Regions from separate parts of the Homo sapiens genome. Here regions 1, 2 and 3 are each linked to region 4. The links are contacts of gene promoters, found by promoter capture Hi-C in blood cells and fetal thymus (Javierre and others, 2016). All regions are on one chromosome and are shown on one strand. Each heading gives the region's core, a stretch centred on a gene start or on the middle of the fragment in contact. The rest is flanking DNA. Distances are from core to core; before and after follow the strand shown. Region 1 overlaps RBBP8-AS1 (RBBP8 antisense RNA 1). Region 2 overlaps RBBP8-AS1 (RBBP8 antisense RNA 1). Region 3 holds the start of LOC124904263 (a long non-coding RNA gene). Region 4 holds the start of SLC35D4 (solute carrier family 35 member D4).

Region 1 (2,700 bases), core at 127-2,626, 590 kb before region 4:
TAGCGGTTCCTCTGCAGGCCAGGGCTGATTGTAGGAGAGGCCATCATAGAGCTGGGCTCATTAGTATTCATATTCATGATAGAGGCCCCACAGGAATAGAGGCCAAGTGATAGCACTTAACTATCAAAAGTCAGGAGGCTGCAATTACCATAATGGCCTGCAAGATCAGAGCAGCCAATGGGTTTGATCCACAGGGAGTTGTGGAGATGGTTGATAAAGCATGGTTTTCCTAGGAGCAAAATAGAAGGGCAGTCAGCAAGGGTGCTACTTAACATCTTTAAATTTAAAAAAAGGCAAGAATGGGAGAGCAAGAGGCAGAGGATAGTCATACCTATAAAAAAGTCACAATCCTCTGCTAATATTCCCAGACTTGAGCAGATTTTTAGAACCAAAATCCATTGACTAAATACCACAGAAAGTATATTCTATAATCATTCCTACGACACCCACTGCAACAACTTGGCAGTTGGAGTAACCCCCAGATTAAGACCCTTGGCCTATGGAGTAAGAGCTATCACAGCAGGAAAAACCAAGTGGAAATCTTTAAAATTGTTCCTCCTCAGCCAACATAGTAATTCAAAAACAATATATCCTACAGATGATGAAGGAGATTGTTGCTGTCATTAAAGAGCTAAAGGAGGCAGAGATGGTGGCTCTCATCATATCTTCATTTAATTCACTAATCTGGCCCCTGCAAAAGCCATCTGTAGACTATCACAAGCTCAACAAAGGAGTATCCCTGATGATAGCTATTGTGCCAGACATGGTTCTACTATCCCTCTTCTAAATTCCCCCTTAGAAAGAGACCCCTAAGGAACCACGGAGGAGTTGCATCCCAAAGCTATGTGAAGTAGACCTGTGTGGAACAAGGGTTAGACAGGAGCAGGCATGAAAATGCTCCTGTCAGACCTCCTGTTGTGAGGAGCATAACTGACCAACAGCCTGAGATCTTGTCCCTCTGGATCCAGCACTGCATTTGCCCCAAGGACATACTTTTGTTGTGGGGGGTGGTTCCCAGCCAATTCTGGACCACCTCAGAGATACTAAGGTAGGTCCATTTTGGCAATATACAGGACTCCTCAGTAACTTTGATTCAAGGACTCCCCATCAACCTGGCCAAATCTTCCTTGGTACTGCACTGCAGTCTGAGACTCCTCATACCCAGTCTTCCTTTCTTCCTTCTCTTCTACACAATCTGAAGGATCTCTCCACCTTCTCCTCCTTCCCCCAGTAAATCTCCTACTTCTTAATGGACTTGACCTAATATACCCCGAAAACCTGGAAGACTATGGAAGAAAGGATCTGCATTTGCATTTCCCCTGGCAACCAGAATGTTTTTAAACTATACAAGGGGATCACAGACTTACTTATTTCTTTATTTTTACCACAATGAAGGTAACCTGCTAAGGGAAGGAGAATCTAAAGATGATTAAAATAAACCTGGAACAAAAAATTGCTTTGTATCTTAAAATTTGCATAAGGCATAGTCAGGGCACAAAGGGGCTGATGCAGCCTCAGTGCCAAGGTAAATGAGGCACACACTGTACAGTATTTTCTGTGTTGGTGCCAGTCACACAAATGGGATCTGCCCAGAGCTAGTCTTACTTGTGTTCCTAACTTGCCTGAAAATGTTTAGAAATTGTCATTCCTGGATCAGCACTTTTAGTTTGGGTCTTGGTGCCAGTAACACCTTTAATTCTGTGGTTTTCATTCATATGCTGTTGACTTGTGATGCATGCGGCCTCACCCACAGAATAATAAATGGTTCCCCAGTTCTGTTGGAGTTAACCTAGGTTAGAAGCCATAGTTTGGTGGACTCTGCTCAGATTAGTCAGGTTCAGCCAGATTTGTGGTTGACTTGACCTAAAATGAAATGCAATGACCTATTCACTTTCCAGACATGTCCAGGATTCTAGGAGTGGTCCAAAGTTAATCTGAATCCATGAAAGGTGTGGTTTTTTGGAAATCACCCAGAACTAAGGGATCCTAGGGTTATTCTTATTCTTGGTGACTAATGTACAAACGATTTAATGTCTCTGTACATTCATTTCCTAATGAATATAATAATCCCTCCCTTTAAGAAGGTTGTAATGTTTCATATAATTGTATGAAATGCCTTGAAATCTTTAATGAGAAAAGGAAAAAAAGTTATCATACACACCATTTTTAATCTAAGGCAAAAGAATTCAATCAAATCTTGAGGCTTAATTTATTAGGCTTTCTCAACTTAATTATTTATCTATACTGAAGTCTGCTGAATGCACATTTCATTGGCACATTTTATTTTTCAAGGGTGTAGCCTAGCACAGTGACAGATATTTAATAAATGCACATCAACTTGCAAGAAGAAATGTGGACAATTTAACAGAGTCATCGACTGAGAATCCAGATACCAGGGTTCTAGTTCCAACTCTGCTGCTAGTGCATTATACAATCTTCCACAAATCACTTGGCTTTAATTCTCTCTTCCGAGATTGAGAACATTGGTGTTAAGCATCTCTAAAGTAACATTCAGGCCTTTAAAAAATCTGTCATAATTTGTGAAGTTGTTACTCTTTTATATTGCTCTAATGATGAGACACTTTTTTTAAAGAAGAAATATAAAGACATTTATAAGTAAATACTTTCCTATTTTATTTTTCTCAAAATCTGTGCTGCATTTTAAAGGCACTGTGGTATAACTCAAAGAGTACTAAACAT
Region 2 (2,700 bases), core at 126-2,625, 520 kb before region 4:
TGATATTAGATTGAATTGAAGCACATGTCTTCTAGGGCATTTAATTTAACATAACAGCTGACATATGATTTTATCTGGGAATTTAAAATTTTTTTAACATATTATACTGAATGCTTTCCTGTCATCTTAGTAGGACTTTGCTTTGAGCTGAGCAAGACTGATGCATCCTTTTCATTGTCCCTAGGGTTCCCACTTTGTCACTATGTTCAAACTCAAAGGCTATAAAATTATTTTCTAACTCAAAGGCTATAATATTAGTTTCCTTAGGATGTTGACAAAGAATAAATTTAAAAGTGTGAATAAATGTTCAGATGAGATTTCATTTTTTGCAGGGAAAACCCTTGGATGCTTCATAGTCCTACTTCTAGGCAGTTCTGCATGAATTTCTGGTAATCCAGGTAAACTGCTGAAAAGCTATGTAATGTTGTATCTGCAAAAGCAATGTGCTGATTCAGCAAGCCAATATTAATTTTATTCAGCACAAATTGTATTTTGACAAGTTTTTGGTAATATGGATCAAAACTTTTAATTGGCTGAATTTTTCTGAATTTACTACATGAAACCTAGTTTTCAGGTAATATATATATACCAATAGAGCACATTGTTAGTATTTCTGGTGAATATATTGCATATGATAATTTAAAAAATTTAAACCACACCGTGTTTAAAACATAGGGCTTACTGTTTAAAGATAAATTTAATTTGGGATTCTAATTTATTTATTGAGCATTTTTTATGTTTATGGTTTTGAAGAAAGCTATTTAAGAACTAGATATACATTTATATAAAATCCATGGGTAAAATTTCAAGCTTAACTCTGTATTTTGGGAGAGGATTTTACAATTTTCATTTAATGGAATTTTCATTTTCAAATATATGTAAGTCCTATTAGATATTACTTTCATGTATTTTCCATAAATTTAGTCCTTTAAAATATTGATACATTGCGATATTTTTGTTAAAACTGAGGATATATAAATTTGTCAATCAAATTAGGAGTGTGTATGTATTTTATACAGACCAACATACTTCAGCGCCTAGTCAAAAAGTATTCCACTCATTTAAAATTTTTTTACTCTTTTAGTCGAGGATGCATTTCTTTTTATTCCTAGCTGCACAATTTCGCATAACTCTTTCTGTCAACAATGCTAGCTTTCTTAACAACTGCAACTTCTTTCCCTCCTGAATATCTTCATGTGTTTTCCACTAAAAGCACTTAGAATTATGTCATTTTTTACCTAAGAGGGACATTTAAAGAATAACCAATGAATCCAATATCTCATTTTTGAGTTAAGAAATGAAAAGCCCCAAAATATAGCTAAGTCACTATTATATAATCTAAGGGTAGATCTGGGGCCAGAACATCCAGGTTTCCTGACTTCCACCAAGACCAGTAATTTTTTCACTACCCTACATTGACTCTTCTGAATACTACATGAAATCTAATCTAAAAAGGTAAAATTATGTTGTATAGTGTGTTAATGAATCTTTGGTGAACTAAAAAATCATTTGTTTTTATATTTTAATCTATACCATTATTGCCCCAAACATTTTTGGGACAATGGCTGAATATATATGGGATTGCCATTGATAACAAAGGTGACTACCACTTCAAACCCCAATCTCTTAATGCCATCATATTATTTTGTTTCAGACTGATGAAAGCCTCACATTCTTTCATATTTGCCCAACTTGTGGATCCCGCTCTCATTTTCTGACTCAATATTGCTTTAAGCTGTCTCAACTGTCTATTTTCTTAGTATGTATATATTTTTGTATTATTTTAGTCATTCTTAAATGCTCATAATTTAGGATTTGCCTAAGTTAATATAGTATTCTTTAAATTTGGTTAGAACTGACAGGAAAATTTTGTTATGAAGACAGAAATTGCAGGACTTAAAAACCCATCTTAGAGGTGATAGAAGCTGTTATTGAAGGGGTAAGCTTTGCACACAAGTGCTCAAAAAAGTTTTAAACATTTTTAATTTGAGGAATTCCTAGGAAATGTGATTACAGAAAGTTGGAGAACCAAAGGCCAAAAATTTCAATTCTGATTCCTGGTACTAAATGTTAATTCTACTAATTACCTTATCTTATCACAGGTAAAATCCTACCTGGAAAATGCTTCTAAATTTGGTCATTTTAGTTCAGTCCAAGTGGACTCTGAAAAAAATCGCTTTCATTTGTTTCTTAACTTTACAAGAGAAAAGGCAGTATACTGAAAAGCATGTGAGCTTTTGAGCCAAATTGACATGGGTCTGAATAACTCTGCTACAAATTACGTTCCCCTTGGAAATTATTTAACTCTCTGAGTTAGCTTTTCTCCATCTAGTTAAGGAAGTTAAGTTAATACCATTCTTTCAGAGTTATTGGAAGAATTAAATGAGATATCATGTAAAACACTTCACATAGTTCCTAGAACATAGCAGGTGCTCAGCAAATGTCAGTATCCTTCTTACCCCTTTTACAGACTATATAATACATTTCAACAAATAGCTTCGGTATTTCCTGAAGTATTTCAGTATTTTCTTTCAGTAAGAGAAGTCAACTTTAACTTAGAATATGCACGTTTTTGTCAGAAAGATAAAAATAAAATCAGCAATCTTGGAAGGCATTAAGATATAATGTTGGGGCCGGGCGCAGTGGCTCACTCCTGTAATCCCAGCACTTTGGGAGGCTGAGGCAGCCAGATCACAAGGT
Region 3 (2,700 bases), core at 67-2,566, 640 kb before region 4:
TGGAGAGGCATTTCTTCACTGTCTCCCCTACTCCTTTTTTTTTTTTTTTTTTTTTTTTTTTTTTTTTGAGACGGAGTCTCGCTCTGTCGCCCAGGCTGGAGTGCAGTAGCGCGATCTCGGCTCACTGCAAGCTCCGCCTCCCGGGTTCACGCCATTCTCCTGCCTCAGCCTCCGGAGTAGCTAGGACTACAGGAGCCCGCCCACCATGCCCGGCTAATTTTCGTATTTTTAGTAGAGACAGGGTTTCACCGTGTTAGCCAGGATGGTGTCGATCTCCTGACCTCCTGATCCGCCTGCCCAAAGTGCTGGGATTACAGGTGTGAGCCACCGCCCCTGGCCTTTTTTTTTTTTTTTTTTTTTTTTTGAGACAGAGTCTTGCTCAGTCGCGCAGGTTGAAGTGCAATGGCGAGATCTCGGCTCACTGCAACCTCCGCCCCCCAAGTTCAAACGGTTCCCCTTTTGAAGAGAGCAATTCAGAGGGCCATTAACTATATAAGCACAAGAAAAGTCCAAAGATCCTGGAGCTACCTAGGGAACAGAGCTCCAAAGAAAGCCTCCTGCGTGGAAGCTTCCCTGAGGAAGAGCTGATAACACCTTAAACCTCCTCTGGATTCAAGTTAAAGGTGAGAGGGAAATTTTCCAGTGGAATCCTGCCCAGCAGTTAATTACAAATGGCAAATTTTAAATCATCTCTGCTTTGGTGTTCTGTGTTAGAATGGAAATGGAGATGGACAAACTGTTTACTTCTTTCATTTACTTTGTAGCGCTGGGGTGAGGGGACTCTAGGCTGTTTTGTTTCAAGGAATTGTTTAAACTTTTTATTAAATTTTATTTTAATCAAGACGGAGTCTCGGTCTGTCACACAGGCTGGAGTGCAGTGGCGCTAGCTCGGCTCACTGCAACCTCCGCCTTCTGGGTTCAAGCGATTCTCCTGCCTCCCGGGTTCAAGTGATTCTCCTGCCTCAGCCTCCCGAGTAGCTGGGATTACAGGCGCTCAACACCATGCCCAGCTAATTTTTGTATTTTTAGTAGAGGTAGGGTTTCGCCATTTTGGCCAGGCTGGTCTGGAACTCCTGGCCTCAAATGAGCCTACTGCCTTGGGCTCCCAAAGTGGTGAGATTACAAGCGTGAACCACTGCATCCAGCTCAGATTTTCAAAGTGAGGGTAAATTCTAGGAAATAAAACAGAAGATTATAGAGGTGAATAATTTAAGAATTTTAATTAATGCATAGAAAATAATAGTGCATAGTGCTGGTGTCTTAGAATATGTTTACTATTCTTTGAATATTTATTTCTGAAATTCGTCCCTTCATTTGACAGAGCTGTATGTGGATTACTACAAATGTCCACCAGAGGGAGACTCAAGACTGAGTTTTCCCCTTGGGGTTCCTTCAGGTTTAATTAGTACTTGGGCCAAAATCTCTACCACATGTTGTTATAGGGAGGCAATCCAAGACGGCGAAGAGATTTATGGTTCTGGAATGAGATAAAAGGATAAATAAAGGGATGGTTCTATCCTTAAACATCCCTGCTTTTTCTCTGGGGCTTGGGTCACTTTCTCTTACTGATCCTCTGAGGTTTGCAAAACTGAGTTATTTGTCTGCTTTTGAAAGCAAAGCCCTTAGGATTCCTGGCACTATCCACGCTGAAAAAAACCGTAGGAATACTCCCACCCACTAGCAAAGAAATGTGTCATTCAACTCACAGGAGGCATTTACTAAATTCAGGAGATCCCTCCAGGGATTATAATGTTCTGCCAGAGCCAAAGGCAATCTAGTCCCAAGCCATACCATGGAATTTGGTAGAGGATGGTTTTAGTCTTCCCTGAAGTCTTCATTTGTTAGTTCATTCAACAAAGAGGAAGACTTTATTAAGAGGCAGGTATTGTTTCACTTTTTAAAAGATATCTCTAATTATAGGAAAAATCTAATAATGAAATGAATTTATCATTAACATGCAAAAGCTGTTCTAAAACAGATTTCTGAATAGAACATGTTGTTGGTATAGTTTACATTTGAGATTTTAGGAAACACTTTTATATCACCTATTATGTGCAAAGGGGAAAAGCTTTTTGACAAACAGATATTAACATAGAAGTACAACTATGAGGCACTGCTGTGATTTTCCTTTTCAGAGTTTTGTTTTTTAATAAATCAGACATAGATGGTTGCACAATTACTTTCTATTCATGATCACCTAATTTCCCACATTAAGCCCTGAAACCAAATCTTGAAAATGAAAATAAAATTAGACTGCAACCTGCCACCCACTAGGGAACAAACACCTCTACATGCCTTGGCTACAAATTTAACAATAAAAAAAGACTTTAAATCCCACTTTAATATCTAGGACTTGGGGGTCTGGGGTCAGGTAAAAGCAGGGTAATAGCAAAGGAGTGATTTTTCCCTTACTTCTAGGTTAAGCAGGCTGGTTGTACGGGGAAGCAGTGACTGGTAAAGAGTTAAAGCTCACAGAGTTAACTCACTGGTTAAGAGTTAAAGCTGGTTAAGAGTACCAGCTCACAGATTTGCAGTGAGAAAGAACCCAAGCTCTTAGCATCCTTTTCCTTGGGCTCTAAATCAGTTGTGGGAAACAGTGAAAGGTAACATACAGGACAGGATTTTTTTAGCGAGATCACCTTCAGCCATGGTTTCTGATGCAAAATGTTCTCCCGCCAGCACCCAAGACCATAGATGCTG
Region 4 (2,700 bases), core at 129-2,628:
AGGAGTTCGAGACCAGCCTGGACAACATGGTGAAACCCCGTCTCTACTAAAAATACAAAAATTAGCCCAGCGTGGTGGCGCACACCTGTAGCCCCAGCTACTCACGAGGCTGAGGCAGGAGAATCGCTTGAACCCAGGAGGCAGAGGTTGCAGTGAGCCGAGATCACGTCACTGCACTCCAGCCTGGGTGACAGAGCGAGACTCTATCTCAAAAAAATAAAAATAAAAATCAACTGGAGAAGGAAAGGGGGTTGGGGAGCATCCTCTGAATATATAAAGGCAGCCATTCATTGTAGGAGAGGAGGTAGAAGGAAATGCTGTTTGTCGATGGTTCTTTTCCAGAGAGGAAGAGAGGAGAAAGGAAGAGCGGGGAGCAGGTGGGGAGCCCGCAGTAAGACCCCACAGTGGGGCCAGGTGGTCTTGCACCCTGTATTCCCACTTTGGCTGGGGCCAGCCCAGAGTCCAGGCCAGCAGGTAATGCCCCAGCCATGCCCACTCGGTCCTATTGGATCCAACCTTTCCCTGCGTGGTACCAAACCTAAAGCCAGCTTCCCTCTCCTTGCAAAACAAAACCCCAAAGCTGGCACCACTGCTTCTCTGCCTCCTCACCAAAAGGTTTTCATGATGTCATGACATTAGTTTAAACCTAAAACTAAATGTATGTTTTATTTTAAAAAATAATAATTCCATGAAAAACTCCTGAAGTGCTTACAATGGAGACGTACAAAAAAATTGATTCGGGAATCAGCAGTGTGAGGGGGAGACGGCTTAATCTCTTCTATTTAAAGGCTTCTGGAACTTCACGGGGGCTCTGGGACAGGGGCGTGTTTAGAAAAAAGGCAGGATGTGTCAGATTTCTTCTGACTCTTCCTCCCCGGGGGAGCAGGAGCCAATTGCTTGCTTTCTCTTAAAACTAGTCCACACAGCCCCAAACCAAGTTCCCGGGAAATGGCCAGCCCAAAAATCCTGTTTCCCTGGAGATGTACCGTGCTTTACAGTGCAGGAAACGGGGACAGTACAGGCTGGCAAATCCTATTTCTGAAAGAGCATCCCACACACGGAGGAGGTTCGCTCTCCATCTCCATCGCCACCAGGAAGAATGAGGTAAAAAGCAGGAGGAGGCTCCGTTTGTCACGGGAAGATTCTCCGACTCAAACCTCCCACGTGCAATCGCTGCCTCCCGCGCCCGCCCCCTCACCTTGTTCGTGAGGTAAGAAGCCAGGTAGCAGGTACAAAAGGTGAGGCCGACCAGAGACCTCCTCACGCACATCTGTCAACTCGTCCCCTTCTCGGGGATCCACGGTGCCTGCCCAAATCCCCTGGCCGCCGCCCGACCCCCGCAGCAGCAGCAGCGGCAGCGGCAGCAGCCGCCCAGAGACGGCCACGTGGCTCCGAGCTCCGCCAATCAGCGCGGGGACCGCCCCCGGCGTCTGCCTTCTTAAAGGGGCCGCGCCCTCGAAGGACGGTCATTCTTCTTTTATTTTTTATTTTTTATTTTTTTATCTTCTTTTAAAGAGTAGAAAGTGGCAGAAGAGGAAAAAAGCATACCGCAGTTCACAATACCCCATCAGTGTTTAAAGAAAAATGTTCATCGCTATCTCTAAACTATGAGACCAAAATATTACCCGTGCTTCACTGAATTTTCCCAATTTTCTCCACTGAGTCTGTAGCGCTTTGGCAAATGACACAAAAAAGGTAACAGCAACAAATGTTCACTTAAAAGAGGGAAGGTGAAGGAAGAAGGAACTGGAATTGAGTATAGGTTTTTTGAGTTTTGTTTGTATTTAAAGTCATTCCATTCTCTTGACATTTCTATAAAATAAGAACCCTTTCCCAAGCACAGCCCCTATTCCTATTCCTATTCCTAGTCTATAGGGTGGAAAACTGGACTCATGAGGCTTCCGGCAAATGTTAGTAAACATGCAAGAAAACCTATTGATGGACTTGGACAATAGCAAAAAGTGCCAGTGTTCTCTGCCTGTAGAAACACACAGATTTTCAGAAACACCCACACACGGGGAAACCATCACTCTTAAGCCACAGCAAAAGTCCTCCTGGCTCTCGGTGCTGGAGCAGTGGATGGAAAACGACACACCAACCCTTATGTAATTTTTCTGTTTTTCAGAAGCATGCCTTGTTTCTCTCTGCTCCCTCCAGCATTGAGGGAGGGCTGACCTCGGCTTGTCCCCTTGAAGCCACTCCCCAGCCACCACTGTCTCATCGCAGTCCTTTGCCTCTGCTCACTTTTCCACAGGTCTCTTCCTGGGCCTGCTGGTTGGTCTGCAGAGGGGACCAACATAGAGATGGAGGTAGGCTGGTCACCCCTTCCCTCCCTTTTCTCCCACAGTCTCCTTCAAACCACTTGTACAGATGGGTATAGCTTTCTCTACCAAGACTGGATGATATGGTTTGGCTGTGTCCCCAAATCTCATCTTGAATGGTAGCTTTCATAATTCCCACATGTTATGGGAAGGACCTGGTGGCAGATAATTGAATCATGGGGGCAGTTTCCCCCATATTCGTCTCGTGGTAGTGAATAAGTCTCCCCAGAGCTGATGGTCTTATAAGGGGAAACCCCTTTCGCTTGGCTCTCATTTTTTCTCTCTTGCCTGCCACCATGTAAGACGTGCCTTTTGCCTTCCACCATGATTATGAAGCCTCCCCAGCCCCGTGGAACTGTGAGTCCATTAAACCTCTTTT

Evidence for each region. The method cuts DNA at HindIII sites, captures the fragments that hold promoters and counts their contacts. A CHiCAGO score of 5 or more calls a contact.
Region 1: a contact is called between a fragment that was not itself captured here and the fragment with the promoter of SLC35D4 in region 4, in 1 of 17 cell types (total B cells). The highest score is 5.8, in total B cells.
Region 2: a fragment that was not itself captured here is called in contact with the fragment with the promoter of SLC35D4 in region 4 in 2 of 17 cell types (total CD4 T cells and activated CD4 T cells); the score reaches 6.0 in total CD4 T cells.
Region 3: a fragment that was not itself captured here is called in contact with the fragment with the promoter of SLC35D4 in region 4 in 3 of 17 cell types (activated CD4 T cells, naive B cells and total B cells); the score reaches 7.1 in activated CD4 T cells.

Annotation. Positions count from the first base shown.
Region 1 is chr18:22,842,476-22,845,175 of GRCh38, forward strand. All of the region lies in intron 2 of RBBP8-AS1 (RBBP8 antisense RNA 1), which reads right to left. Among named protein-coding and RNA genes, the nearest start is that of RBBP8, 90 kb to the right of the region's middle. The HindIII fragment of the contact is 8,089 bases long and covers 1-2,700 here.
Region 2 is chr18:22,915,088-22,917,787 of GRCh38, forward strand. The region is part of intron 2 of RBBP8-AS1 (RBBP8 antisense RNA 1); the gene reads right to left. It also overlaps a transcript of RBBP8 not described here. Among named protein-coding and RNA genes, the nearest start is that of RBBP8, 17 kb to the right of the region's middle. RefSeq lists an enhancer at 1-38. The HindIII fragment of the contact is 1,134 bases long and covers 809-1,942 here.
Region 3 is chr18:22,797,865-22,800,564 of GRCh38, forward strand. All of the region lies in intron 2 of RBBP8-AS1 (RBBP8 antisense RNA 1), which reads right to left. LOC124904263 (a long non-coding RNA gene) reads left to right here and starts at 366. Exons shown (of 2, transcript XR_007066308.1): 1 at 366-623. The HindIII fragment of the contact is 1,500 bases long and covers 567-2,066 here.
Region 4 is chr18:23,436,583-23,439,282 of GRCh38, forward strand. It overlaps SLC35D4 (solute carrier family 35 member D4), which reads right to left and starts at 1,379. Exons shown (of 15, transcript NM_032933.6): 1 at 1,199-1,379. The coding sequence starts at 1,270. RefSeq lists a silencer at 1,408-1,507. The HindIII fragment of the contact is 5,255 bases long and covers 1-2,700 here.